Linked DNA regions of Homo sapiens: region 2 is linked to region 1. The links are contacts of gene promoters, found by promoter capture Hi-C in blood cells and fetal thymus (Javierre and others, 2016). All regions are on one chromosome and are shown on one strand. The core of a region is centred on a gene start or on the middle of the fragment in contact, and the rest is flanking DNA. Distances in the headings are between cores, read along the strand shown.

Evidence for each region. Contacts are between HindIII fragments. The CHiCAGO score rates a contact against its expected background, and 5 or more counts as called.
Region 2: a fragment that was not itself captured here is called in contact with the fragment with the promoter of RTKN in region 1 in 1 of 17 cell types (M0 macrophages); the score reaches 6.4 in M0 macrophages.

Annotation. Positions count from the first base shown.
Region 1 is chr2:74,440,441-74,443,274 of GRCh38, forward strand. RTKN (rhotekin) reads right to left here and starts at 1,497. Exons shown (of 12, transcript NM_001015055.2): 1 at 1,266-1,497. The coding sequence starts at 1,376. RefSeq lists silencers at 113-422, 1,138-1,197, 1,508-1,587. The HindIII fragment of the contact is 8,784 bases long and covers 1-2,834 here.
Region 2 is chr2:71,069,625-71,072,389 of GRCh38, forward strand. NAGK (N-acetylglucosamine kinase) reads left to right here. Exons shown (of 10, transcript NM_017567.6): 2 at 878-962; 3 at 1,117-1,215; 4 at 2,062-2,203. Among named protein-coding and RNA genes, the nearest start is that of NAGK, 2.4 kb to the left of the region's middle. RefSeq lists an enhancer at 2,764-2,765. The HindIII fragment of the contact is 539 bases long and covers 1,210-1,748 here.

The sequences.
Region 1 (2,834 bases), core at 247-2,746:
TTCCCTTCCAGACAGGAAACCAGCCCCGATTCCGAGCCAGCTGCAGCCTAGCGCCCCCGCCTCCACGCCAGGCCCACGGAGTCACACTTCACTCGGCGGCCGCCAGGCCCTGCGGCTCCGCCCCAGCTCCTCCGAGCTGTCCCCGAAGGCCGGGCTAATCCCAGGGGCGGCCCCAGCTCACAGGCCCCTCCCCCTGGTCCCGGGCCTCGCCCCTTACTCCCCCACGCTGGCCCCACGCGGGTTCCTCGGGCCCAGTCGCTTGGGGGCAAGGGGACGCGACAAAGGCCCCCTCTCCCCAGGTCCACTAGCTTCTGAGTCAGAGAAGGCCCGGGACGCCGGGACAAGGGTGTGAAAGAGCCTCTTTGTTCTGGGCAGGCTGGAGGGAAAGGGCAGAAGCCAGGCCTGGAATCCCAGCCGGGAGGTAGAGGGGGCGGAAGGAAGGCCCACCTCACTTAACCCTTTCCAGACCCGGAAGGGAAGGCTTGGAACTGGGCTCTCCTTGGGCGAGTGTGAGTCTGACCTTGGGGACAGAAGAGTCTTCGGGGTAGCTATTCGCCCTCTCAGTCCCCGCTCAACCACACACCTTCAGCCCCGCCCTAGCCCTTAGGGCGTTACAGGTGGGGATCCAACAGGTTAACGCGTGGACGGCGGACGGGGGAAACGCTCAGCCTAGGGGCTGGACTCCTCTTAGGCCCCAGAAAAGGAGGCGGAAATTTTGCGTGTGGGAAGTAACCCCAAGGAGTTAAAAGCCCTGCAGGGGCATAGAGGAGCCTTTGAATTGGGCTTCGGGGAAGCGAGCGGCCCCGGCCTAAAGTCGGGGTTGATGACAGAGGCTGGCCCAGATGGCTGCGACAGGTTGTGGGATGGGGCTGGCGACTGGGGAACAAGCGGGAGCCCAGGCCAAGAGTCCGAGCGCTTGGGGCCCGCCTAGCTGCCCACCGCCCTTGGCCCGGGGATGCCCAAGACATTTTGGGGTTCAGGCACATTTTAGGAGTCGAGCTGGGGCCCTACAAATTGAGACCAACCCGGGCTTTTTCCAGGCTCAGGCAGATAATCCTAACCAGGCCGCGGAATGGGCAGCATGGATCCGATGAAAATGCAGACCGTCCACACCTTACTTTTTAAGTCAACAACTCCGTCGGGTTTGTACCCAGACCGTGCGTCTCCGCCCCTCGGCGTGCACGCGGGCGAGGGAAGGAGGCCGAGGTGGCTGGGGCTGCCCCCGGGAGCCGCGGAAGGGGAAGGCAGGGACGCGAGTCTCTCACCTCGGGCAGGTCGCTGAAGAGGCTGAGTCGGAAGCGGCCGCGTTTGAACTCCATCTCCAGGGCGGAGCCCCTGGCCACGGTGACCCGGCTCCGGTGGTTTCGGGAGAACATGCTGGCGGCCCTGCGACTTTGCCTGCTCAGTGCGCTCCCCGCGCCGCCCGGCTTAGCCTCCTCTCCTCGGCTTCTGTCTCTCGACGCTCGTCCGCCAGTCCGGCCGGGAATCTCCCGCTGCGGGGCTCCAAACCCCGCCCCCGGAGACGACACCTGGGCCGGGCAGGGCGCGGCAACCTCCTCTTCCACCCCCGCCAAAGGCCCAGCCCGTCCGGCCAGTCCCTGGGCGCCAAGCCGACCTGGCCCGACGGCCCCGGAGCCCCCAGGGGCGCACTGCACCTCGCGAGCACTGTGGGAGCGCGTTCTCCCTGCCCGCGCGGGTCGCGAGCGCCTACCTGGACTTGGGACGGACCGAGAAGCCCTGCCCCGCCAGCCGCCCCAACCTGGCAAGCCTGGCTTCCCGGGCGCTGAAAACCCCGTGGCTCAGGGATCGCCGCGTAGCACGCTCTGGCTCTACTCGGGCCCTGGGACCTTGCCCAGTTTCAATCCCGGCAGCCTCCGAAGAGACCATTTCAACATCCCACAGTCCCAAATGTTCCTTCTTCGTCCCCCTCCCCACCTAGGCTCCTCTGCGAGGCTATCCGCCTAAGCCTAGTGGCCACAACTGATGGGGCGGTGCTTAAACACGTCGTGAAACCCCAGCTCTGTCACTAACTAACCGTGCAATCATTAACTTGGTCCAGTCACTGGCCTTTCTGAGCTTCAGTTTTCTCATTTGTTCAGTGGGAATACTGTAATTATCTCCACTCCTCAAGTTGCTATGAGGATTACCTATAAGAATGAGGGTAAAATGCCCAGCATAGTGCCTGGCACAAGGCAAGTGCCCCATATTTGCAGTCATAAAGAGCAGCTGCGCGCGGTGGCTCACGCCTGTAATCGCAGCACTTTGGGAGGCCTAGGAGGGTGGATCACCTGAGGTTGGGAGTTCGAGACCAGCCTGACCAACATGGAGAAACCCCATCTCTACTAAAAATACAAAATTTAGCCGGCCATGGTGGCACATGCCGGTAATCCCAACTACTTGAGAGGCTGAGGCAGGAGAATCGCTTAAACCCGGGAAGCAGAGGTTGTGGTGAGCTGAGACCCCACCATTGCACTCCACCCTTGGAAACAAGAGCGAAACTACGTCTAAAAAAAAGATGGCTGGGTGCAGTGGCTCAAGCCTGTAATCCTAGCACTTTGGGAGGCCAAGGGGGACTGATCGCTCTTGAGCTCAGGAGTTGGAGACCAGCCTGGGCAACATGAAACCCTGTCTCAACAAAACACACACACACACGCACACACACACACAAATTGGCCTGGCATGGTGGTGCACACCTGTAGTCCCAGCTACTCGGGAGGCTAAGGTGGGAGGATTGCTTGAGCCCGAAAGTTCAAGTCCAGCCTGGGCAACATAGTGGGACCCCATCTCTTAAAAAGCATTACAAATATGTATAATTTTTTATTTTTATTTATTTA
Region 2 (2,765 bases), core at 229-2,728, 3.4 Mb before region 1:
TGTTATAGTCATCTGTAAGATATGACCCGTTTCTTCCAGTTCGTCAAGACATGCTTTTGGATGTGGAATCTGCCACCTCATGTATTAACTACCCCCTTGAAATTTCATGTCCTCTTTGAGTTTGATGAGCGGTCTTCAGTGTCTTCTTCTGCCATTCCTAAAAGTAATGATCAATAAAGAAACATATATCCCATCACCACAGATCTCCCTGTGAACTACTGTGACCCCCAGTAATCAACATTTGAAGGTTTAGTTGCTTAAGTATGTATGAAGTCACCCTGCCATCTGGTCAGCATTTCTAGCAAAGGTGTCTTGAAGACCTTGGCAGCTGGATCTTGAAATGCAGTCTTTAGCTATTGTGAGGGAAGCAGAGAGATGTGCCATTTTTCTTAGGAGTGTTTGCTGAGCATTGCCTGTGCCAGCTCCTGTGCTCGTTCTGAGAGGGTAAGTAAGTGATCAGGAGCTTGACCCAGTGGAGCTTGAAGTCTAGTGAGAGGCGGACACAAAGCGTCTGAACACACACTTCATACAGAGGAGACTTTAATAACTTTGGAGGCACTATGAAGGTTTAACTAACGGAGACTTAACTAATTCGTTGGGGTGGGCCACACCTCAGAAAAGGTTTCGAGGACTAGGTGAAGCGTAAGTAGAGTCTTGCAGGATAAGGAGGACATCCCCAAGGGAAGAGGAGTGAGAATTATGTTTCAGTTAAAGAGCACTCAAACACTGAACCACAGAGGCGGGTTTGGGAGTGGTGATTGAGTTTGTCGAAGCTGTCTCCTCCATCATACTGGGCTCTGCCAGTGTGGACAGCACAAGCTTAGCTCTCTCTGTGGGTTTTTCCGAGCAAGATCAAGTGCCCTCTTGTGTTCTGTAGGGGAGGCACACGATCCGAGGTCCTTTTAGTCTCAGAGGATGGGAAGATCCTGGCAGAAGCAGATGGACTGAGCACAAACCACTGGGTAAAAACCACACTGAGGGGATCAGAGGGCTTGGTTCTGATTTTATTCTCTGTAATTCCTGTTGAGGTGGTGGCTGGGACTCACAGAGCAGCCTGTGGGGGCAACATAGCTTCTGTAAGCCTTTGTAACTCCTTCTTCCCTTGATTGGGGCCAGCTGATCGGGACAGACAAGTGTGTGGAGAGGATCAATGAGATGGTGAACAGGGCCAAACGGAAAGCAGGGGTGGATCCTCTGGTACCGCTGCGAAGCTTGGTGAGTCTGGGGCGGAGCCTGGGAATTCAGCCATCTGTGACACTGAGACAGCTAGCAAGTTTGGACTAGATGAGTTTGATGACTGCAGAGGGAAAGACCTCCAAGACTTAGTCCCTGGTGTCAAAACTGTCATAATCTCACCCAGTCTCATGGCTTCAGTTGCCACCTACAAACTACAAATGTGTTGGAAGAGCACAGGGCTTTGGAGAGCTGCTGAGACCTTGGTTTGAATCCCAGCTTTGCTGCTCAGTATCTGCGTAACCCTGTGTAGGTTACTCACCTTCTCTAAGCCTCAGTTTCCTCATTTGGAAAATGTGAATAGTAGCTACCTCAGAGTTGTTGGGAAAGTAAAATGGCATGATACATTGCAAAGTGGTTAGTATAGAGCCTGACCCATAAGCACTCATTAAATGTTAGCTATTATTTACTCCTGGTTCAGATCTTTCTCCCAAGTTGCGGTAGCTCCAGCTACTCCCTGGACATATATGTGAGATGTTCTGCAGACACAGGCAAACCTCGTGTATACCAAACCAAGCTTACCTCTCTCCATCTCCCCTCACCTTGCCCCGCTGCCTGATCTTTCTGTTAAGAGCACTACTGCCCTTCCAAGCTCCAAAGCTGGCATTGTTGAATCCCCTCTTTCTTCTGTCCATCCCCAGTCCAGGTTGTTCTTATAACCACAGCCTTCTGAGGGGTCATTGTGTGGGGAGAAAGGAGGACTGGGGCTGGGTGAACAGGGTATGGCCAGATGGGGAGAACAGGAATCAGGCATCAGGAGGGGGCGGGGGTTGAGAAAAGAGCTGGGGCTGGGGCTCTGCACACTCGCTCACCTCCCGCGTGGCCTAGGGCCTATCTCTGAGCGGTGGGGACCAGGAGGACGCGGGGAGGATCCTGATCGAGGAGCTGAGGGACCGATTTCCCTACCTGAGTGAAAGCTACTTAATCACCACCGATGCCGCCGGCTCCATCGCCACAGCTACACCGGATGGTGAGGAAGTGGAGGGAGGGGTGAGAGTGAGAACTGGTTTTTTTGGGAAAGCCCCTTAGATATAGCTGACAAAACTTGTTCTGCAAATATCCAGAAGGCAGCCACTCTTATATTCCCCTCAACTCTTTAAGTAGTTTAAGTCTCTGCCAGAGCAAGGACCAGGCAGCAGGAGGAAGGGCAAGAAAGGTCTCTTGATGGGAATCCAGGAGTGGGGTCAAACATAACTCCCCTGCAGATGAGGGACCACCTGGGGGCGGTGTAGTGAGGAAGGCAGGCTGGGGAAGCTGTCAGTGCTGAGGAGGAAGTGGGGTGGCCTTGTGATAGTGTAAAGAGTTTTGGTGTCATGGGATTGGTGTTTGAATCCCAGTTCCTGTTTTGCCTGCTATACCATGTTGGCGAAGTTCCAAAACTCTGAGTTTCAGTTTTCTCATCTATAAAATAGAGGAAGTTGTATTCATAAGATGGTTTAGGGTATGAGTGAATATCACTGTGAGAACGGGTCTAGCACAATCCCAGTAAAGCAGGTAGAGTCACTGGAAGACCGGCTGGGCAAGGAGCCACA